Regions from separate parts of the Homo sapiens genome. Here all the other regions are linked to region 2. Evidence: promoter capture Hi-C in 16 types of primary human blood cells and fetal thymus (Javierre and others, 2016). All regions are on one chromosome and are shown on one strand. The core of a region is centred on a gene start or on the middle of the fragment in contact, and the rest is flanking DNA. Distances in the headings are between cores, read along the strand shown. Region 1 overlaps VPS8 (VPS8 subunit of CORVET complex). Region 2 holds the start of C3orf70 (chromosome 3 open reading frame 70). Region 3 overlaps VPS8 (VPS8 subunit of CORVET complex). Region 4 overlaps VPS8 (VPS8 subunit of CORVET complex).

Region 1 (5,441 bases), core at 1,238-3,737, 290 kb after region 2:
AGAAAGCAAGGCAATGATTCTCAAAAAATTCACCTAAATTCTTCTGAAGCCAAACTCCCCTTTGAGCTAAACAAGACATTAAATTTCTAATCCTGCCTGTGTTCAGCAGGACATAGACTGAAAGGCAATAATTTGTGGCATCACACCACATTCAGAGTTTATTCAATATAACCAGGACTCCCTCTTTCTGTGTGTGTGTGTGTGTGTGTGTGTGTGTGTGTATGTGTGTGTATACATACATATACATATATATACACACATATATACATATATATACATATATACGTATACATACATATATATACGTATATATATACACACACACATATACTTTTTTTTTTTTAAGAGACAGGGTCTCACTATGTTGCCCAGGCTGGAGTGCAGTGACTAGTCACAGGAGCGATCACTGAGCACTACAGCCTCGAACTCCTGGGCTTAAGCTATCCCAGCTCGGCCTCCCAAGTAGCTGGGACTACAGGCACGAGCCTCGGTGCCGGACTGTCCATATTTCATATGATCTTAAAGGTAATAATTCTTGGCAGAAATCCTGGTAGCTTTAATATATCATAGATTCAGAACAATTACATGAACTAAATGGGGATATTTAATTTGAATAATACTCACGGTAAAGTTGATGAGGTCATAGTATAGGTGAAGATGCTTTTGCTTAGTAACATGTATTGCTCCAGATTCATCTCTCTTTACCTGATGATGAAATAAAAACAACCTAAAAACCAGCTACTGTTTGAGGGACTTTTTTAGATATTTAATTATACTCCACCTAGAGTATCACATTTACCCATTATCCCATTCCCTGTAGATAAGCCAAAAATACTGATAATTACACAAATGATTATGAAAATAGAAAAAAAATTATTTGTTCCATTATTTACACCAAAATGCAGGGCATATCTGGGGGTGGTCTAGTTGTCAGTACTGACAAATGCTGTGACATAGTTTTCACTCTGTTATAATTCAGAACAACCTAACTTTATCACATCAATGACTATAATTAAAGTACAAAAAGGAAAGGTGACATGGTGTGAGGAAGTCAAAAGTCCATTAAAGAAAAAGAGATGCTGCAGTGATGTAAACCAGACTTTTCTGAACTATGATATTATTATGAGAGGACTCAAAAAGTTCATGGAAAATGTATACTATGAAAAAACTATGCATGGATCTCAAAAATTGTCTGCACCAAAATAAACTCATACTAACTTGTTATAACATGTCTGAAAAGGATCTAGTTTGAGGCATTAAAAAGGATAAGACATCAGTTTGAAAAGAGCCCCAAAGAGCAACATAAATTCTGCTAAAATTTAAGCAAGAACAAACATCAAATTTATGGTGAAGCTTCGGTGGAAGAATGTAAAATCACTGATGCTTAATAAAAGTTTATGGGAACAATGTCCCCAGAGAAATCAGCAGTTTACAAATGGGTAACTCGTTTTAAGAAGGAAGGAGATGATGTTGAAGGTGAAGCCTGCAGCTGTAGACCATACCCATCAATTAGTGAGGAAAAATATTCATCTTGTTCATGCCCTAATTGAAAGAGATCAACGATTAACAGCAGAAACAACAGCCAACACCACAGACATTTCAACTGGTTTAGTTTGCACTATTCTGACTGAAAAATTAAAGTTGAGCAAAGTTTCTACTTGATGGCTGCCAAAACAGTTGTGTCCAGGTCAGCTGCAGACAAGAGCAAAGCTTTTAATGGGAATTTTAAACATGTGGAATCAACATCCTGAAACATTTCTTTGAAAAACTGTAACAGGAGATAAAACATGGTTTTATCAGTGTGATCCTGAAGAAAAAGCACAAGCAAAGCAAAGGCTATGAAGAGGCAGATGTGGTCTAGTCAAAGCAAATGCAGACCAGGCAAGAGCAAAGGTCATGGCAATAGTTTTTTGGGATGCTCAAGGCATTTTGCTTGTTGACTTTCTGGAGGAACAAAGAACAATAATATCTGCTTATTATGAGTGTGTTTTGAGAAAGTTAGCCAAAGCTTTGGCAGACAAATGCCCAGGAAAGCTTCACCAGAGAGTCCTCCACCACAACCATGTTCCTGCTCATTGCTCTCATCACACAAGGCCAATTTTGAGAGCAATTCGATCCACCATACAGTACTGATTTGGCTCCTTGTGACTTTCGTCTTCTAATCTAGAAAAAGTCTATAAAGGGCACCCATTTCTCTTTAGTTAATAATGTGAAAAAGACTGCATTGGCATGATTAAATTCCCAAGACCTTCAGTTCTTTAGGATGGACTATATGGCTGGTATCATCACTTTAAAAAGTATCTTGAACAAGATGAAGCTGATGTTGAGAAATAAAATTTATTTTTATTTTTTAATTCCATTTTTCCACAAACTTTTTGAAGTTCCCTTGTGTAACTCTTGCAGCCCAAAATTTCCCAAAAGGACCTTGAGTGTCAATCTTTTATTTATATGTATATAAGTACACACTCTATATCCTCAGTCATCCTTATAATTTGCTTCTTCCCCTTCTGCTCCAAGGTAACAGAACACTGAAGAAATATAAAGCACAAGATACACCCGACCACCTGAAATTCATGGCATTCAATTCAACCTGGGCTTTCTTGCACACTCCCCATAGTAGTATCATAGATGTCTTTCCCTTTAAGTTACCTTCTGATCCCATCACTTACAGTGGTGACCTCACCTGATATCTTAACAAAAATCTGAAACCACTTAATGTGGGCCCTTCATGTGGACCCCTCTTCACTTCACTAAATCACTTCTCCCTTAAGAAAAGATCTTTTGGTAAAATGAACATGGGATCTAGAGCCATATATCTAAGTTCCACTATTATACCCGTGTGACCAAGGGCAGTCACCTACTCTTTCTCAGTTTCCCGAGAATATATGGTCCACAGATACTAAAATATTTACTTTGTGGCCCTTTACACAAAAAGCTTGCTAACCCCTGATCTAGATTAATAATGATTGGCCTAGACTGGTAATGGAGTCATCACAGGTTCCTAAGTAATTAAAGTCATAAAGACGGGATTAAAGTGACATTTTAGGAAGATCAGTCTTGAAGTAGCAAAAAGAATACACACAGAAGGGAGGAGAAACATTAAAGGTTTTTCTCTCATAATAAAGCACATGTAAGGTGTTTATACAAAGAGGGTTGGTTGCAGTGAGAGTTAAGGGATGATACTTTCAAGGAAAAACAAGCCTTCTCATCATATTGGATCTAGAGACTGAAGGACATGAATGAAACATCCCATTTCTGACTTTACATTTTAGAATCAAGAAATATTTGAAGAGATACTGTTTAGGAAGAAAATGATTAAGGAATATTTCAATGTGTTGAGTTGAAAGTAAAGATAGGACTCTCAAATGTTGTATTGGGGATGTTCTAATAAAACTTTATTTATAAAAACAGACGGCTGGCCAGATTTGGCGCATGGGCCATAGTGTGCCAACCCCTACTATCAATCCACCCCATCTATTCAATTATATTTTCCACCACAAGTTTCTCTTTGTCATTAATTCTATAAACATTTACTGAATATTTACAATATACAAGCACTGTCCTAGTGGCTGGAAATATAACAGTAAAGATGGTCTCTAGAGTTATGGAGCTTTCTGTCTAGTGGGGAAGAAAAATATTAGACAAGTAATTTTAAAAGTGCTGAATGTGGCCAAGCACAATGGCTCACACTTGTAATCCCAATATTTGGGAGGCTGAGGTGGGAGGAACGCTTGAGGCCAGGAGTTCGAGAGTCAGCCTGGGCCTTGGTTGGAGACCCGCAAGACCTCGTCCCTCTTTTGTTTTTTTTTAAGTGCTGAATGTTATCAAAAGATGCATGTAACTAACTTAGTTCAGAGGCCAGGGAAGGTCATGTTAATCATGAGCTCAGAGACAACAGAAGATAGCACAGAACTTTCCTGGCAGAGGCAACAGTATATGTAAAAGGCACTGAGGCCAGAGACTAGCTAGGAAGCTATGGCAGAATCCAGGCTAGACATGTACATGATTTAGACTAAGGAAACAGCAATGGGGGAGACAAAAAAGGAGAAATTCAAGAGATTTTTGGAGGTAGAGTCAATAGGACTTGGTGATAGAGCACATATGAAGAGAGAAAGGTAACTGAAAAGTAACTCGTAAGTTTCTGGCTGGAGAAACTAGGTGGACAGTGGTGAACTTGCTTCACTGAGCTAGGAAACGCAAGAGATTATTAATACAAAGGCACATTCTTGCCTCTGTGACTTCAGTTCATCTCACTTCCCCCAGTATGCATACCTACCCTTCCTGCAGTAGTTGCAGTATATCCTTCATAAAGCCATTAATACTCTCTCTAGTCCATACTAATCACTTTGTACTCTGAATTTACATCAGCTTGATTTTCATCACATAGTTCAATCCTTAAACCATTTTCTGTAGTAATAATGAACACACTGATTTTGCTTTTCAAACAAGATTATAAGCTGTGTGGAAGATGAAATTATGTTGTATACTTCCTTCTTTCCTTTGCTGCTTGTGCCCATCACAGTGTAGAGGACATAATAGGTGCTCAATGATACTTGCTGTCATTAATACACACATATGTAGTTGCACATACATTAACACATATTCACATTCATATCTTTATACATTTACATATACCATTAATTATTTGTCAGTCAAAGAAATGAAGCTGAGAAATAAACCATGAGAAGTTATGTAGCTGAGAGTGATCACCATTTTCCGATGCTAATCATTAAAGCCTTAGATAAAAATTAAATAGGTCACTCTCTCTCCAAAGACTTAGGATAGTAACACAAATTTCTCTGACACATTATTAATTGCTGATGAATAAAAAAAATTGTAAGAGGCTTTCTAATGGTCATATTAGGACTTACCAATAGAAAATGAACAACATCTCCTCTGCAGAAGGCAAGCATGGGATTCACGTAATTTTGTACTGCTACAAAGTGCCAGGCCAGCAGTGGCACACTGGAAGGATCCATCTAAGTAGGGAGATGGAAAAAAAAAATCATCACAGTTAATAAACAAGGGGACAAAGAGAAAACTATGGTTAAAAACAGCATCTGACTAGTGTTCCTTGATAAAAACTTTCCCCAATTTCTCAGTAAAGCAAGAACTAACTGGGAGGTATCATGAGGGAACTTTCTGGGTTGATGGTAATGTTCTACATCTTGATAGGCATTTGAGTTACAAAAGTGTTAAGCATTTGTCAAAGTTCAGCAAATGTACACTCAAGATCTGTGCATTTCTTTGTATGTATATTCTACACCAAAGGAAAAACCTAAAGAAGTATTAAACTCTAGCTAATAATATGCATGCTAAATATTTAGGGGAAAGAATACTGGTTTCTGAAATTTCCTTTGAAATACATAAAAAATATAATTTGATAAGTGGACAGAGGGATGGGTAGATGGACAGATATGTAATAAAGGGCAGTAAATGTT
Region 2 (5,876 bases), core at 2,989-5,488:
TCCATGGAGATCCTAACAACCGGTGAAAAACAACAGTTCCTACGGAACTGAATCTTGCTAACATACAGTGAGTGAGTGAGCTTGGAAGCAGACTCTTCCCTGGTTGAACCTTTAGATGGGAAAGCAGCCTTGGCCCATATTTTCACTGCAGCTTTGTGAGAGACTTAGAAGCCAAGGACCTACTGCAGTTACATCTGGGTTCCTGACTCACAGAAACTGTGTGTTCTTTTAATTTGGGAGTGATTTGTTACAGAGCAATAGATAACTAATACACACAGCTAAGCTCAGAGTCAGTGTGGGAGGTGACTATCCAAGGGTACAGTTATAAGAACAGTAATTATATGAATTATTTATACATACTTGCAAACAATTTACCAAAGATGAATCTTTTCCAGCCCTTTAGAACCGGAGATGAAATTATTTTCACTATTTCAACAATTATTTATTCTCTGCCCTAAATATTGAAAACAAGATGGAAATGTTCCTGTCCTCAAAGAGCGTACAGTTTGTGTCGGGGAAGGGACACAGGGAAAGATATTAATTGAAGAATTCCTTCTTTAATTTTTGTTTACAATTGGGATAAGTGACCTGAATGGACAGCGTGTATAGCTCAGTCTGGACTAGTCAGAGAAAATGGCACTTAATCTGAAGAGGTAGATGGGGGATTAAGAGTCAGGGACAGAGGAAAATTCCAGGCAGAGGGAGTAGTATTCTTTTTTATTTTATTTTATTTTATTATTATTTTTTTGAGACGGAGCTTTACTCTGTCATCCAGGCAGTGCAGTGGTGCAATCTCAGCTCACTGCAACCTCTGCCTCCCGGGTTCAAGTGGTTCTCCTGCTTCAGCCTCCTGAGTAGCTGGGATTACAGGTGCGCGCTACCACACCCGGGTAATTTTTGTATTTTTAGTAGAGATGGGTTTTCGCCATATTGGCTGGTCTTGAAATCCTGACCTCAGGCGATCTGCCCGCCTTGGTCTCCCAAAGTGTTGGGATTACAGGCATGAACCACTGTGCCTGGCAGGGAGTAGCATTCCTTTTTTTTTGAGATGGAGTCTCACTCTGTGGCCCAGGGTGGAGTGTAGCAGTGCGATCTCGACTCACTGCAACCTCCACCTCCCGGGTTTAAGTGATTCTCCTGCCTCAGCCTCCTGAGTAGCCAGGATTACAGGTGCGCACCACCATGCCCAGCTAATTTTTGTATTTTTAGTAGAGATGGGGTTTCACCATGTTGTCCAGGCTGGTCTCGAACTCCTGACCTCAGGTGATCCATCCGCCTTGGCCTCCCAAAGTGTTGGGATTACAGGCATGAGCCACTGTGCCTGGCAGGGAGTAGCATTCTTAAAGGGGAGCTGGAGAGGTGGTCAGCAGCTACAGGACAAGTTCATATTTATGATCAAATTGTATGCTATTATGCAATAATTATGGTTAGAGATTTTAAAATTTCCTTTAGAGATATACACCAAAATATTAATGGATGAAACGATTTGATGTTTGAGATTGGCTTAAAAATGATCCAGTGGACAGGTTGGGGGCCTGGAGTGGGTGGCGCTGTAGATGAAACAAGGTTTTCTAAATGAGTTCATAATCGTTGAAACTGGGTGATGGGTACATGGGTACATGGGGGGTTATCTTCATCTCTCTATGTTTGTATATTTTGGAAAGTTTCATAATAAAAAATTTAAAAATCGTATCCCAACAACACATCCTGAAAGCTGTGTGTATATATTTGAGAGGTCACAGCAATTACCTCCTCCCGCTCCACACCAGACAGTAGAAATCAATAACGTCTTTAGGGCAAGGTGATGGAATGAGTTTCATGGTACAGAAAATGTAAAGGCTTCTCAACTTCAAATCACGTGTCTAACCTAAAATAAGGTGTTTGGATAATTCATCTTGCCTCCTAGCTAAAGTGCTATATTGCATGCTTTCTCATGCTCATTTTTTACTAGCTGAGATGGTTTATTTCATATATTGTGGAATCTTACCACATGGTTCACCCTGGGGTAAAAGTCAGGGGAAGGATCCCATACAAGTATTAGTTACTGAAATACAGAGAGGATGCCGTCATAAGGCCTTCTATGATAGGGGCAGTATTAGAGTGAGTTATAGGTTGGAGAAAGAGAAAAATAGGGTAGAACAGATGGAAAGTCCCCTTTGAAAAATTGTTGGTTGGCTTGCTGCAGTAATAATGGAGTATGGATTTCTTTGATTAAGATTTCTCTGCCTTTTACTTCCGTTATTCTGAGGTAGGTCAGACTGTGAAGTTAACAGCAGGGGTGCATAGATTTTGTGTCAGAGATGTATTCCTTTAGGATTTTTTTGAGGCGGGGAGCAGTTGGGGTGGAAGCTGATGAGATGATTCTTCATGTTTGCAACTGTTTCAATGTTAGGTTAATGGGGGAACTAGAGTTTGTGATTTTGATTCAGACCTTTCTGGAAAATACTTTTGCTGCCAAATTGAGTCTCTCCCCAATCCCTAATAAATGAAGATTTCACCAGAGTCAGATATATGCAAATTACATTTCCCTTCTCAAGCCAAGGTTACATAAAAGGGAAAATTATGAAAGATTGCTTATGGCAGCAAGGATTTTCAAGCTTGAGGATGAATTTGGTTGTTTCAAAACCATGATGAGTCTCTTGTCAGTGCAAAGCAGGAAAGGCATAAAGGAGAAAGTGGACCTGGGCATAAACATGTTCCCACACAGTGTTTGTGCTGAAAGCCTTGTTCCTTGAACAAGCATTCTTCTGTGCGTTTGGCAAATAAGGAGGGGGTGTCCCCTCCTCTTCTGTGTTCAAGGCTGGGTTCTGGCCTTGTTGCAGGGAAACACTAATTCCCAGCAGTGCACCATGGGAGCAAATGGTTTGTTTCCTCTTCAGTGAATCCAGCCTGGGGTCGGTTCTCAGCAGCAGAGCCTGGCATGGAAAATCTATTTGGAGCAACTTGTCCCCAGGAGGGAAGAGTGCGAGCCAACTGTGTGGGGAAGCCGCAGCCACCACAGGGTCAGTCACACCTGCTGGCCAGAGCAGGCGCTAACACAGAAAGGCAGAGTCCTCCGCATACATGAGTCCTGTTTGTGTGCCCACCCACTCCTATGTACCACACACACCCGATTTGATCCGTATATGCCATGTGCACACTCGACATGCCAGATACACGCACTGCACTGCCACACATATACCATACACACACCACTCTGTATTACTAAGCATACCCACCCCCACAACACGTGCACAAGCACATGCACGTCCAACTACACACATATACATATTCTGCACGCCACACACACTCAACCACACACACACCACCCACACTCCACCTCAGTTATAACATTCATTTCACATACACACGTATACACACACCTCACCAGTCACTTGCATCACGCATACCACCCACCATGTACCATGAACACACCTAACCACACACAACCACACACGCATACCCACCATACATACTCCAAATAATCATACACACGCACGCAACACACACATCCCATGCACACCAAACTACACATACGCAGACACACACACACATCAATGCACCCAGCTTTGTTGCTTTCCCGCTCAACGGAGGCGGGGGTGGGAGGAGAAGGGGGAGGGGCTGCGGTCCCGGCGAAGGTTGGGGCGGGCGCGGGAAGGCCCGGGCGCACTGGCCTGGGGTTTGGGGCGAGGCGGGCAGGGGTTGGCGGTGCTGGCCCCTGACGCGCCCTGTGGCCGCGCTGGGGCAGGAGGCCCGCCCTGGGTGGGGGGAGTGCGCGCGTGTGCACGAGCGTGTGCGCGCCTCCCAGGGGCTCCATGCCCAGACACGGGGAGGTGTGTACGAGGGAGATGTGAGACGCCTGTGGGGACAGGCTGTGTGTGTGAGATCCTCGCTACGCGATGCACCCGGCCCGGGCCACTAGGAGGTTCGGGTGGGCGTGGGCCAGGTGTGCGCAGCCCTCCGTGGAGCGTGTGGACGCGTGTGTCAGTTCTCGGTGGCCAGTGTCACTCGGGGGGAAGTGCATATGTAGGCTGGCGTGCATGTGAGTACAAAGCGGCCGAGGAGTGTGTGTTCACCACGGCCCTCCGTCGGGGTCTTTCTCCGAGGAAGGAGTGAGTATGTGAGGAGGACCTCGCTGTGACCGGCGGGGACGCCGACGGCCAAGCTCCCCAGCGGCGTGTGTGTGAGAAGGCCGGGCTCGCTGAGGAACGTCGCGCGGGGCCGACCGGCGCGCGCCTGTGCGCGTGCGTGTGCGCGTGGGGCGCGGCGCGCGCCGCGCCGGAGGGAGGGAGGCTGCCAGCCCGGACCCGGTCGCAGCGCCCGGGGCGGCTCCTCCTCGAGCCTGGGACCGCCGCGCTCCCGCCGCCGCCGCGTGCTGGCGTGACTCCCGGCCCGTGCCGCGCCCTCCCGCGTCCGCAGCCGGCTCGGCTTCCTGCCCACCCAGACGTCGCTTCTCCCGGGCTCCCGGTGTCGGCTCCGCGCGGAGGGAGAGGAAATGAGTGCGGCGGCCTCGCCGGCGTCGGAGCGGGGTTGGAAGAGCGAGAAACTAGATGAGGCTCAGGCCCTGGCGCGGAGTTGCGCCGCCCGCAGACCCGACTTCCAGCCGTGCGACGGGCTGTCTATCTGTGCCACGCACAGCCATGGCAAGTGCTTCAAGCTGCACTGGTGCTGTCACCTAGGATGGTGTCACTGTAAGTCGAGCCGCGTCTTCCCGCCTTCCGCCGCGGTCCGGGGGACGCCCGCCGGGCCGTCCGGGGTCGCTGCCGGAACTCTGCGGCCGCGGGGCTCCGGGCTCTGCCGGGGCTGCTCTGCCGGAGGCTGGGGCCGCCGTGGGCTCCGGGCCCGCCGGAGCTTTCCTTGCGCCGGACGGCTGGGGTTGGCGCTGCCTTGACGACGAGATGAAATCCCGTGGGGCGCCTCGCTTTCTTTAGCTACTTCTACAAAAGGGAGCTCCCTGTCCCAGGGAAGCGGGAATCTGGTTTTTTTTCTTTTCTTTTTCTTTTTTTGACCAAGGCGTCCAGGCGGTGTTTTGAGAAATGGGAGCGAGCCAGCTGAGTTGGCGACAGCTGTTGGGGATGCCTTTTTTCAAGGTTGCTGGTTAAAGATGCTCCTCTTTTTCTTTCTCACTTTTGTCTTCCTGGGCTGCTATTTAAAAGAAGGAGCCCTTGGATATCCAATTGTTTCCCCCTTGATTGTACCCAAATTGAGAAAAAGCGCTAATGTGGGAGGGATTGCTTCCAAGAAGTTAATATTAACAGTTTGGAAGGTCGAGCTCCTTAAATACCCAGATGTAGAATTTAGAGCCAAATAAATGAGACTTATAAAATTACAAAATAAAATGAGTGAAAGTAAGCTTAATAGTCTTAAACCAATTTATAAAAGCTAGAACCAAATGGTCTAAACCCTTTCTCTGTGTTTAGCCTCCTGCCTGTGATTTTTAAATAGATTAAACTTAAGTAGCCATTTAATTAGAATTTCACAATTTGATTAGCTAATAGTATTTGGACTATATCCGATGAATCATTCATTTTAAGAAATATATTCTAAAGTTAGTTTCCACATATATTTGTAATAGAGGGTTTTGGAGTGCTTATTTAGGACATTTTCCAAGTGATCTTAAGTTAAAATGAATTTTTCTTTGTTGAGAAAAAAATAGCTGACAACCAGGAATGCAGTACATAACAAATCCTTATTTACATTAATCGAACATAAATGAATATTTTAAATCGAATTTATGAATTCAAGGATAGAGGATCATTTTCTTTACAAATTCCAGGCACATAGAACAGTATTGATTTCTGGTGTTCCATTTGCTTATGGGCCAGTTTCTTCCTATTTCTCATTATTCCTGTTGTGCTCAGATCTGTTCTCTTTTGTTAGTATAAAGCATTGCTTCA
Region 3 (5,363 bases), core at 1,731-4,230, 270 kb after region 2:
ATCCTATACAATCCCTTCCACAAAACAGAAAAGGAGCAAACATTTCTCAATTCATTTTGTTAAGTTAGTATTACCCTGATACAAAAACCTGAAAAGCCATTACAAAAAAAACTACAGACCAATGTTCTTCATAAAGATGTAAAAGTCCTTCACAAAATATTAGGAATGATAATTCACAATTACATAAAAAGAATTATACCTCATGACCAAGTGAGGTTTATTCCAGGATGCAAGACTGGTTCAATATTCAAAAACCAATCATTACGATATGCCATGCCAATAGCCTAAAGAAAAAAAATCACATGATCATATTAATTACATAGAAAAAGCAACTGACAAAATTCAATATCCATTCATGAAAACCCTCTTAGAAAAACTGTAATAGAGGGGAACTTCCTCAACTTGATAAGAAGTAACTACAAAAAATCTACAGCTAATATTATACTTCATAGTGAAAAATCAAATGTTTTTACCCTAAGACTGGGAACAAGGCAAGGATGTCTGCTCTCACCTCTCTTCAATACAATGCTGAAGTTTTAGCCTATGCAATAGGCAAGAAAAGGAAAAAAATAGCACACAGATTGGGAAAGAAAAAAAAAAACTGTCTCTGTTGGCAGATGACATGAGTGTCCACATAGAATATCCCAAGGAATCTACAAAAAGCATTCTAGAATTAATAAATGAGTTCTACAAGATTGCAGAATATAAAATAAACATTCCATATGCCATTACTGAACATATGAATACCAAAATTAGAAATTCAATACCATTTAAAACTGCTAAGAAAAAAAGAAATATTAGGCGTAAATCTAAAAAACCATGTATAGCACCTGTATACTAAAAATTACAAAAAAAGTGAAATAAATGGAAAAACTAGGAAACTCAGCATAGTAAAAATATCAGTTCTCCTCAAACTGATGTGTTTAATGTAATTTATATCAAAATTCCCACAAGATTTTTCATAGATATAGACGAGATTATTCTAAAATTTATATGGAGAGTCAAAGAAATTGGAATAGTTGAAGCAATTTTCATAAAGGAGGAGGAATCGGTCTACCCAATTTCAAGACTTACACAGCTACAGTTATCAAGATTATGTGGTACTGGCAGTGGGATAGGCACACGGATCAATGGAACAAAATAGAAAACCTAGAATTAGATTCACTATATAAGCCCAGCTGATTTTTGACAAAGCTGGTAAAGCAACTGAGTGGAGGAAAGAAGGAAAGTATTGCCTTTTCAACAAATAATGCTGCAATTAGGTATCTATACACACACACAAAGGAACTTCGACCTCAGTCTCATATCTTATGTAAAAATTAACTCAAAATAGATCACACATTTAAGTTACACACAAAACTGTTAAAACTTCCAGAAAAAAACATAGGAGAAAATCTTCAGGATCTTAGGCTAGGCAAAGAGTTCTGAGACTTGATTTCAAAAGCACAATCATACAAGGAAAAGCTGATAAATTGGATTTCATCACAATTAAAACCTTTGGTTTGCAAAAGATCCTGTTAAGAAGGATGAAAAGAAAGCTACAAACTGGGAGAACCAAGTCCAATAACGGACTAGTGCCTTGAATATATTAAAACCCTAAAAATTCAACAGTATGATGAGAAACAATCCAGTTAGAAGAGAGGCAAAACCCATGCAGAAACATTTCACAAAAGAAGATATACATGTGGCAAATAAACACATGAAAAGATGTTTAACATCATTAGTCATTAGGGAAATGCAAATTAAAGCCACAATGAGATACCATTATGCACCTACCAGAATAGCTAAAATAAAACAGTGACTTCATCAAATGCTGGATGTAGACTAGAAACTGGATCACTTACACACTGCTAGGGGAATGCGAAATGGTACTGGCATTCTGGAAAACTATTTGGCAGTTTCTTTTAAAATTAAACATTCAACTATCATATGATCCAACAATTGTAAACCTGGACATTTCTCCTAGAGAAAAGAAGACATGTTCACACAGCAACATATACAGAAATGTTTAGAGCCACTTTATTTTTAACAGCCCCAAACTGGAAACAACCCAGATATTCTTCAACCGGTAAAATTGTTAATCAAACTGTGGCTCATCCATACTATGGAATACTACCCAGCAATAAAATGCAACCAACTACTGATATGTGCAACAACCTGGGTGAATCACTAAGGAATTATTATGCTGAGTTTAAAGAGTCAGTCCCAAAAGGTTACACACTCTATGATTCCATTTATATAGCATTATTGAAATTATAATTTATAGAGATGAGGAACAGACTACTGGGTATCAGAGGTTAAGGAGGGGGTGGGAGCAGAAGAGAAGTGGGTGTGGCTATAAAAGGGTAAAATGAGGGATCCATGTGGTGATGAAAATGTTCTGTATCTTTACCTTATCAATATCAATATCCTGGTTATGCGACTGTACCATAGTTTCATGAGATGTTCTCTTATTGGGGAAAATTGGTTTAAGGGTATGGGATCACTTTGCATTATTTCTTGCAACTGAGTATGAATTTACAAATATCACAAAATCACTAATTTTAAAAAAACCAAATACACATACTTTTTATGCCTGCCACTAACTGTTCCTAACTCAATTAAGGCAAAACCATCCAAATTAACACTTTCAATCTGGCTTCTTAAAGAAGCCAGGTCTTTATCAATTTAGAACATTTAAAACCATAAGTAAAACAGAGTATTAGTTAAAGCCAAATCTATTTCCATATTTTAAGCTTTGCTTCCCAGAATCAGATTACAGAGAGACAAACTATATTGTCCAGTGGATAATCCCTGATGGCAATCTCTTAGATGCCTGAAAATGAGCTAAGTGGGATCAGTAGCTCTCCATCTCCCAACTGGCAAGGGCTACACAAAGACTCAACTTCCTACAGAATCCTCACAGAGTTGCCTTGCTCCACAGAGCTGGGCAGCTGGCATTTCCCGGACTAGTAAACAACCACCTGGAGTAGCTGGTGCCCAAGCTCAGATAATATCCCTCTAAACTCATTTGGAAGGCTCCTCTCATGAGAGCCCTGAAAGAAAGCAGAATGGGAAAGAACAAGTCCTTCTCTTGCAGCAAAGCCCTCAGTTCATACAGCCAGACCTGGTCTACATATGCCTCTCTACAGGATGCTGACAGATTAAGGGCTTTCGAGATAGACACTGTGAGCAATACCTGCTTTAAGAATATTAAGAATATTCTACTCAGTCTCAAAAGCTTGCAGGATGCAAGAAATCACTGAATTTGGGGTCTCCAAAATTAAAAAAAAGAAAACAAGTAACTATTTCTCTAATCTCTTCTTCAATGTATGGGCTATAATGGGCCAAAAAAGACTGCTTCTCTTGTCGGATATTCATGTATATTTAAGATGTATTAAAGAAGGCAATGTGGATATACAAATAAAAAACTGAGCTGACAGATAACCTAAATTTGAGCCTGTCAATGGTTTGAGTGACTGAATAAATCATTTTATTGCATTGTGACTATCTTACCATCTGTGAAGTGAAGACATAATCTCTGGTTTTCCCTATTTCATGGGATGATTTGAAAAGAAATAACAGATGCAGATTCCTTTGCTTTTTGGAGCGATGGTACTAATTCTCTTAATTTATATTCTAAAAGACTATCAGATAAGGAAAACTTGACTGTGTGAAAATGATTCAAAATTATATATACATACATATGTATACACGCATACACCAAAACAGATAAACATATCTATCTACACACAGATATACACACACAGATAAATCTCCACAGGCTACCAGAGCTAGGCAGCTGGTATCCCCAGGATTGGTATACAAACATCCCAAACAGCAATATAGATTAGATTATCTCTCTGCATGTATATGTGTGTATGTATTTTTCTTTTCTTCTTTCAGGTATGATGATAAAATAATCTAGGAAAGACCTGACTCCTCAGAACCAGCACTTTAATCAAGCCTCAGGGATAGGGCAATGTGCTAGACATCAACACTCTTTTCCTCTCCTCAAATCTTCTCAGAGGAGGTATGGGTTAGACAAGGAAAGCTCCTACTGCCTCGCTCTGTGTTTGGCTTGTAGTCACTGTCCACTCTTTGACATTACCTCTTAATGCAAAAATATATGCCTACAGCTGCTACAAAAATAGCCTTGAATTATCTGACCCTCATAGAAATGTGAAATGAAGCTGGAAGGAGAGCTTAGTAACGATTAACATAAGGCTTCATTAAGATCTTTTAGGTTAGGCGCAGTGGCTCACACCTGTAATCCCGGCACTTTAGGAGGCCGAGGCGGGTGGATCATGAGGTCAGAAGTTTGAGACCAGCCTGGCCAACATGGCGAAACCCCATCTCCACTAAAAGTACAAAAATTAGCTGGGTGTGGTGGCGGGCACCTGTAATCCCAGCTGCTCAGGAGGCTGAGGCAGGAAAATAGCTTGAACCCGGGAGGCAGAGGTTGCAGTGAGCCGAGATCATGCCACTGCACTCCAATCTGGAGGACAAGAGTGAGACTCCATCTCAAAAAAAAAAAGGGTCTTTTAAAATTATATTATTTTTCAAATCCTTTAAGCTTGATTCACATTACAGCATTAAAATGCCTCATTATTTATACCTCTACGTTGTTTCAAAAACAAATAAAAACACATATATTAAGCATAGCAAAATAAAATAACCCAAAATACTGTTTCCACAGTTAACTGATTAGCAGTGGTTTCTTAGTTTGAAAACACTGCTAGCAACTCAAATCAGTCAATTGTTCAGGTATATTTACCATGGTTATGCTAAAATTCATTTGTATTTTCTTTTTCATATATTTCAATATCCTCCCAAAACTCATAAATTACTTAGTCCTCTCTGTTTCAAAGTGAGTTACATAACAACACATTGGTCTGAGATTATCAAAGAATAAACTGTGGGATGAAACATAGTACAGTACAGGGTCGAGGCTCCTGAGCCAGGCAGCCTGGGTGTGTATCTATGGTGGTTCTATTCACCGGTTCAATGATATTGGGCAAGTTACTCAACCCCTTTGTGTGTCTATTTCCTCTGGAAAATGGAGGTAAATAATAAGCACTCCTCAAGTACGTTATAAGGACTAAATAAGATAGCCATCAGGCATACAGCACACCACATGAGCCATCATTATGACATATGTGTTGCAAATACTAAGTCCTACATTTGGTTCTTAGCTCAAACCTCTTAAATTGAAAGCATGCTTTCAAAGCAAGCTCTACAACATAAGTTCATATATTTTTAAAAATTCTCTCAACAACTATTTATCAAGGACACTGAACCAGATGCTGGGCATACGGCAATGACAAAAAACAGACATGTTCCTAAACTTACACAGGTCCCTAAACATACATAGGCTAGCTGCA
Region 4 (5,537 bases), core at 2,942-5,441, 330 kb after region 2:
AAAATTTTCTTAAATAGGACACACACACGCACACGAATGGAAAATTTTAATAAGCTGAACTATATTAAGAACTTGTGCTCCTCAAAAGAAACCATTAATAGAGTGAAAAGGTAATGTACAGAAAGAAAGAAGATAAAATATGTACATCAAATAAAGGGCTTGTATTAGCATATATAAAGAACTCCTATAAATCACTTAAAAAATAAAACGACAGAAGTGGGCTAATTATATGAAAAGGCAATTCACAAAAGAGATATTCAAACGGTCAAAACCTATGTCAAAGTACCCAATTTCATTAGTCTTTAGGGAAATACAAATTAAAATCATGATGTGATAGCACTACAAATCTTTTAAGAATGAAAGTGAAAAAGACAGAAAAATTCAAACGTTTACAAGGATATAGTAATCAGAAATCTCATATACTGTTGCTGGAAGTGTATATCAATACCACCACTTTCAAAAACGGTGCCAATATATACCAAAGCTGAATATAACTATACCTGATGACCCACTAATTCCCCTCCTAGGTATATGCCCAACAGAAATGTGTATAAAGCTGGGCACAGGGGCTCATGCCTGTAATACCAGCACTCTGGGGGGCCAAGGCAGGCAGATCACCTGAGGTCAGGAGTTCGAGACCAGCCTGGCCAACATAGCAAAACCCCGTCTCTACTAAAAATACAAAAAACTTTGCCACGTATGGTGGTGCATGCCGGTAATCCCACCTACTCGGGAGGCTGAGGCACGAGAATCACTTGAACCCAGGAGGAGGAGGTTGCAGTGAGCCCTGATCGCGCCACTGCACTCCAGCCTGGGTGATAGAGTGAGACTCTTGTCTCAAAAAAAAGAACAAAATGAAAACAGATAAAAACCAGAAATGTGTGTAAGTATGTACATGCCAAAACACATTAATAAGAAACTTTACAGCAGCACTCTTCATAGTAGTCAGAAATTAGAAACTACACAAATACCTATCAACAGTAGAATGAATAAAGGTATATTCACAAGGAATTTTACACAGCAATGTGAACAAATCTAAAAACATAATATTAAGGGAAAGAAGTCAGAAACAGAAAAGTACACACTATATAATTCCATTTATATAAAGTTCAAAGCAGGCAAACTTAATCAATGCTGGTAGAAGTTAGAGTAGTAATTACCCTGGGTTTGGGTACTAAAGGGACACAAGATGAGCTTCTAGGGTACTAGTAATGTTCGGCTGCTTTATCTGGATTCTGGTTACACAGGTTGTTCAGTTTGTTAACATTCACCACACTGTACACTTATGATTTGTGCACCTTCCTCTATGTATGATATACTTCAATGAAAAGTTCAAAAGAAATTTCTGGCTGCACAATCCAACAGCAGGATTGAAGTAAACCTAGGACTATTCTCAGAAACTGGGAGATTAGAAAGGGTCAAAGACTTGGTCTTAATGAGGCCAAAAAACAGTTTCAATGGAAGGAAATAGGGGAAAAAGGTTATAGTTAAAGAATGGAATTTCAAAATTAAAAATCTCAGAAGAAGCATAGTTTCAAAGGATGGCAATACCTAGTAACATTCTTTCATGTCCTAAATTCTGAGATCTAGGATGTCTCAGTAATCTCTAAATTTCTACTTTAAAAAGCATCGGCCAGGTATGGTGGCTCATGCCTACAATCCCAGAACTTTGGGAGGCCGAGGCCCGCAGATCACTTGAGGTCAGGAGTTTGAGACCAGCCTGGCCAACATGGTGAAACCCCGTCTCTACTAAAATATAAAAATTAGCTGGGCGTGGTGGTGGGCACCTGTAATCCCAGCTACTCAGGAGGCTGAGGCACGAGAATCGCTTGAGCCTGGGAGGTGGAGGGTGCAGTGAGCCAAGATCGTGCCATTGCACTACAGCCTGGGCGATGGAGTGAGACTCCATCTCAAAACAAACAAACAAACAAAAACAAACAAAAAAAGTGGATGTCCATTTCTTCCCAGTCTCCTTTAAGGTTGATATTAATGAACATTATAGAATATATGCATCCACATATCCTGAGAAAAGGTCTTATTTATGTTTTCTACTTCGGCCCTTTTCATTTTTCCTTCAGTCATTTTCTTTAGTACTCCCCACAGCCCCCTTATCGTCTTCATAATGGTCTACAATTTGAACTATGTTTTCTTCCACTTACGACTTGCCTGGTTCCCTGGAGGTGTAAAGTCTGGCCAGTTCCCAGCCTCATTTCCTTCTCAAGCACAGAGATAGTCATATTGCACTTTATAACCCCAACATCTAACACCATGACCCAAATACACTAGACACTCAAACTACTATTGAGGATGATAACAGTGTTATCTTCTTAGTAAACCACTAATGACTATACTTACTGTTACTCACAGATAAGAAAGTTGTTGTGCAGGAACAGTTTTCCTTCATTATGAACCACAGCTCATTCACATGAGCATTATTTTCTTTGCTGATATAATAATTTACAAACAAGGCCTTATACACAGTCCTCTAAGATTATTTTTATTTTACACTTAATAATTGAAATGAGGATGCAATTAAGGCCATTTTAACAAAACTGACTAAAATTAATCTTCTCACCTCTAAATGAAAGATTTCCTCTATATTAGAAAGTAAATAAAGGACATTTCACTGTAACAGAATATTCTTTCATGGACCAAAGCCTTCTTTATCAAAACTAAAAATGCTTAAGTCTTCACACAGAACATATAGGACACTTCTGAAGTTAGAACACATTCAAAGTTAAAATACACTCAAAGTAACAGCAACATCAAACTGATGTAAAACATAGAAATAAAAGCCATACAAGAAAAATAAAAGACATAATTGACAGAGAAAGTAGTTTGCATCCTATAAAGTGCTGCCTACAACCCTCACAGGATAGGCAAAGAAATAATAAAGACAGAGGCCCAACTCACTCGGAGCTTTGGTATACGTGGGCCTTTCTGTCAGGGAACTTTTGGGTCTTTATCTTTTGGAAAACATAACTGCGGATTTGAAATAGATTTATACATTGCAAGATCTTTCTCAAATTAGAAGCTAAAACCTCCAAGGGAAGTCTCAAGCAAGTTTTTAAAAAATGAAGACTGAGTTGAAGGGTTGTCAGCAGATGCAGGGTATATAAAACAGGCGTGCTTCACCAACCATGTCCTCTCACAGAGCCCCTTTAGAAAGCCTTTGATCTCCCAATTCAGAAAAGAATAACACCATTTCAAAACTCTGAAAAACTTTTCATTAGAAATGGTATTCATAAGATAAACTATAAAAGATTAGTTTTCTTCATGTAGAAGAGTGATGAAGCTTATTATAAGGTTGCAAGATGTTCTTTAGCGTCAGAGGACAAGCTATTTGAATATCAGTGGTAGAGACAACTTAACCATTAGCAACACATAATACAAACCTCAAAAGTGACATAAATTTTGCATCTCAATTCACTTAATAAAATATATTTTAAAGTCTGCCAAGTATTAGGCATTGTTCTGGGCACAGAGACCCTAAAGATGAACAAGAGATGGTTTATGCCCTTGAGAAGCTCACAATCTAGACTACTGCTGTCCAAGAGAACTTTCTGTGATGACGGAAATACTCTTTATCTATGCTGTCCCCTAGCCATATAGTAGCCACTAGCCACACGTGGCTATTGAGCACTTGAAATGTGCCTTGTGCAGCCAAGGAATTAAATTTTTATTTGATTATAATTAATTTAAATTTTAAACTGACACACACGACTAGTGGCTACCCTACTGGAAAGTGCGCATCTAGGTGCATGTATGATAACTAATCCAAAAAGTATTAAGATGAATGCCACACACAAAATGACAGTAATCATTAATATTCACTTACCTCATTTAGTATGCTTTCCAGTGTTGGAGGAGTATCAACTTGAGGAATATCAAACTCCTTGTCATCAATCTAAATAAAGAAAAAAAATAGTGCTCACAAAATGATGCCTTTCTGCTTATAATTGTGAGGGGTTTTAGTTGATTAAAACCACCATCAATTAAAAGACAAACTTACCACCAAAATGATCAACTCAAAAATCCACAGTAATAATCAAGTCAAGACTACAGAGTGGTTTCCTTTCCTATCTACACGTTCAGTTACCATCAAGGACATATATGCACTAACTGCACTATCCTGACAGCCCTTTCCAGAACACTTTTTTTTTTTTTTTGAGACAGAGTCTTGCTGTGATGCCCAGGCTGGAGTGCAATGGTGTGATCTCAGCTCACTGCAACCTCCACCTCCCGGGTTCAAGCAATTCTGCCTCAGTCCCCCAAGGAGCTAGGAGTACAGGCACGTGCCACCACAAGCAGCTAATCTTTTTTGTATTTTTAGTAGAGATGGGGTTTCATCATAAGGCCAGGCTGGTCTTGGACTCCTGACCTCAAGTGATCCACCCATCTCGGCCTCATAAAGTGCTGGAATCACAGGCGTGAGCCACCACGCCCGGCCTACTTTCCAGAAAACTTGTGTTGAAAGACTTTTGCATCTGCTTTCTTAAACATGACAAAACAACATCTAAGAAAACCCCTAATTTTCTAAGTTTAGACATAAGTCATAAGCAATAAGCAAAAGTCTGACATCACATTTCTTAGTTATTTCATAAATTATGGTGAGAGATAATTAGGTCAAGCAACATGCTGTTATTCTCATACTCATAGAAACCCATTAACATAATATTAAATCAAAGGGAAAAAAAAATGCTGTGCAAGATAAGGAACTACCACTGGCTCTGTGACTTTGAGAAGTCATTTACATAGCTGCATGCCAGTGTCTTCATCTATACAATGGATTATCAGAGTGTTGTGAGAGTTGTAAAGCTCAAATGACAACATGAATCAAATTGTTTCATAAACTGTAATGGACTATACAAATGAAGAGTAATGTTATCTCATAAAACTATACACGTGGGGGCCAAGAAGGGAGAACTGCTTAAGTCCAGGAGTTTGAGACCAGCCTGGGCAACATGGCGAGACCCTCTCTACAAAAAAATTAAAAATTAGGCGGGCGTGGTGACACACACCTGTGGTCCCAGCTACTTGGGAGGCTGAGGTAGGAGGATCACTTGAGCCCAGGAGGTTGAAGCTTCAGTGAGCCATGTTTGCACCACTGTACTCCAACCTGGACAACAGAGTGAGACCCTGTATCCAAAAAAAAAAAAAAAAATTATACACAGACTCCTATTAACCCATGCAAAAATGACAGACTTAGAGTCTCTGGGTCACAAAGCATACTCTAATCTACACTGGTTAAACATTATCACTTGACAGAAATTGAAATTTTTACCAGATCATTTTTGAACTCCAGTTCCTTGTCCATATCTATGTAAGAGAATTTTGAAAGTGAAGCTTCTAGATTGAAAGACTTATTCAGCTCTTCTTCGCTCGTCTTGGCACAGAGGCTCTGTTCCACATTTTCATGGTCTGGTTCATTTTCCATATTTACTTCTAATAACAGTATTCAGTCCATCAAAGCAAGTGTTTTTTGTTTGTTTGGCCTTAGCTCACGAAGACCTGAATGATTATCTCTTTTCAAAAAA

Evidence for each region. The method cuts DNA at HindIII sites, captures the fragments that hold promoters and counts their contacts. A CHiCAGO score of 5 or more calls a contact.
Region 1: a contact is called between a fragment that was not itself captured here and the fragment with the promoter of C3orf70 in region 2, in 1 of 17 cell types (endothelial precursors). The highest score is 7.5, in endothelial precursors.
Region 3: a fragment that was not itself captured here is called in contact with the fragment with the promoter of C3orf70 in region 2 in 3 of 17 cell types (endothelial precursors, megakaryocytes and erythroblasts); the score reaches 11.1 in endothelial precursors.
Region 4: a fragment that was not itself captured here is called in contact with the fragment with the promoter of C3orf70 in region 2 in 1 of 17 cell types (endothelial precursors); the score reaches 5.1 in endothelial precursors.

The regions. Positions count from the first base shown.
Region 1 is chr3:184,855,249-184,860,689 of GRCh38, reverse strand. VPS8 (VPS8 subunit of CORVET complex) reads right to left here. Exons shown (of 48, transcript NM_001009921.3): 14 at 4,872-4,979; 15 at 625-705. Among named protein-coding and RNA genes, the nearest start is that of VPS8, 46 kb to the right of the region's middle. The HindIII fragment of the contact is 901 bases long and covers 2,037-2,937 here.
Region 2 is chr3:185,151,422-185,157,297 of GRCh38, reverse strand. C3orf70 (chromosome 3 open reading frame 70) reads left to right here and starts at 4,238. Exons shown (of 2, transcript NM_001025266.3): 1 at 4,238-4,670. The coding sequence starts at 4,475. RefSeq lists an enhancer at 4,053-4,192 and a silencer at 4,613-4,832. The HindIII fragment of the contact is 2,735 bases long and covers 2,600-5,334 here.
Region 3 is chr3:184,877,270-184,882,632 of GRCh38, reverse strand. All of the region lies in intron 21 of VPS8 (VPS8 subunit of CORVET complex), which reads right to left. Among named protein-coding and RNA genes, the nearest start is that of VPS8, 68 kb to the right of the region's middle. The HindIII fragment of the contact is 485 bases long and covers 2,738-3,222 here.
Region 4 is chr3:184,824,533-184,830,069 of GRCh38, reverse strand. VPS8 (VPS8 subunit of CORVET complex) reads right to left here. Exons shown (of 48, transcript NM_001009921.3): 2 at 5,285-5,525; 3 at 3,839-3,907. The coding sequence starts at 5,437. Among named protein-coding and RNA genes, the nearest start is that of VPS8, 15 kb to the right of the region's middle. The HindIII fragment of the contact is 1,788 bases long and covers 3,298-5,085 here.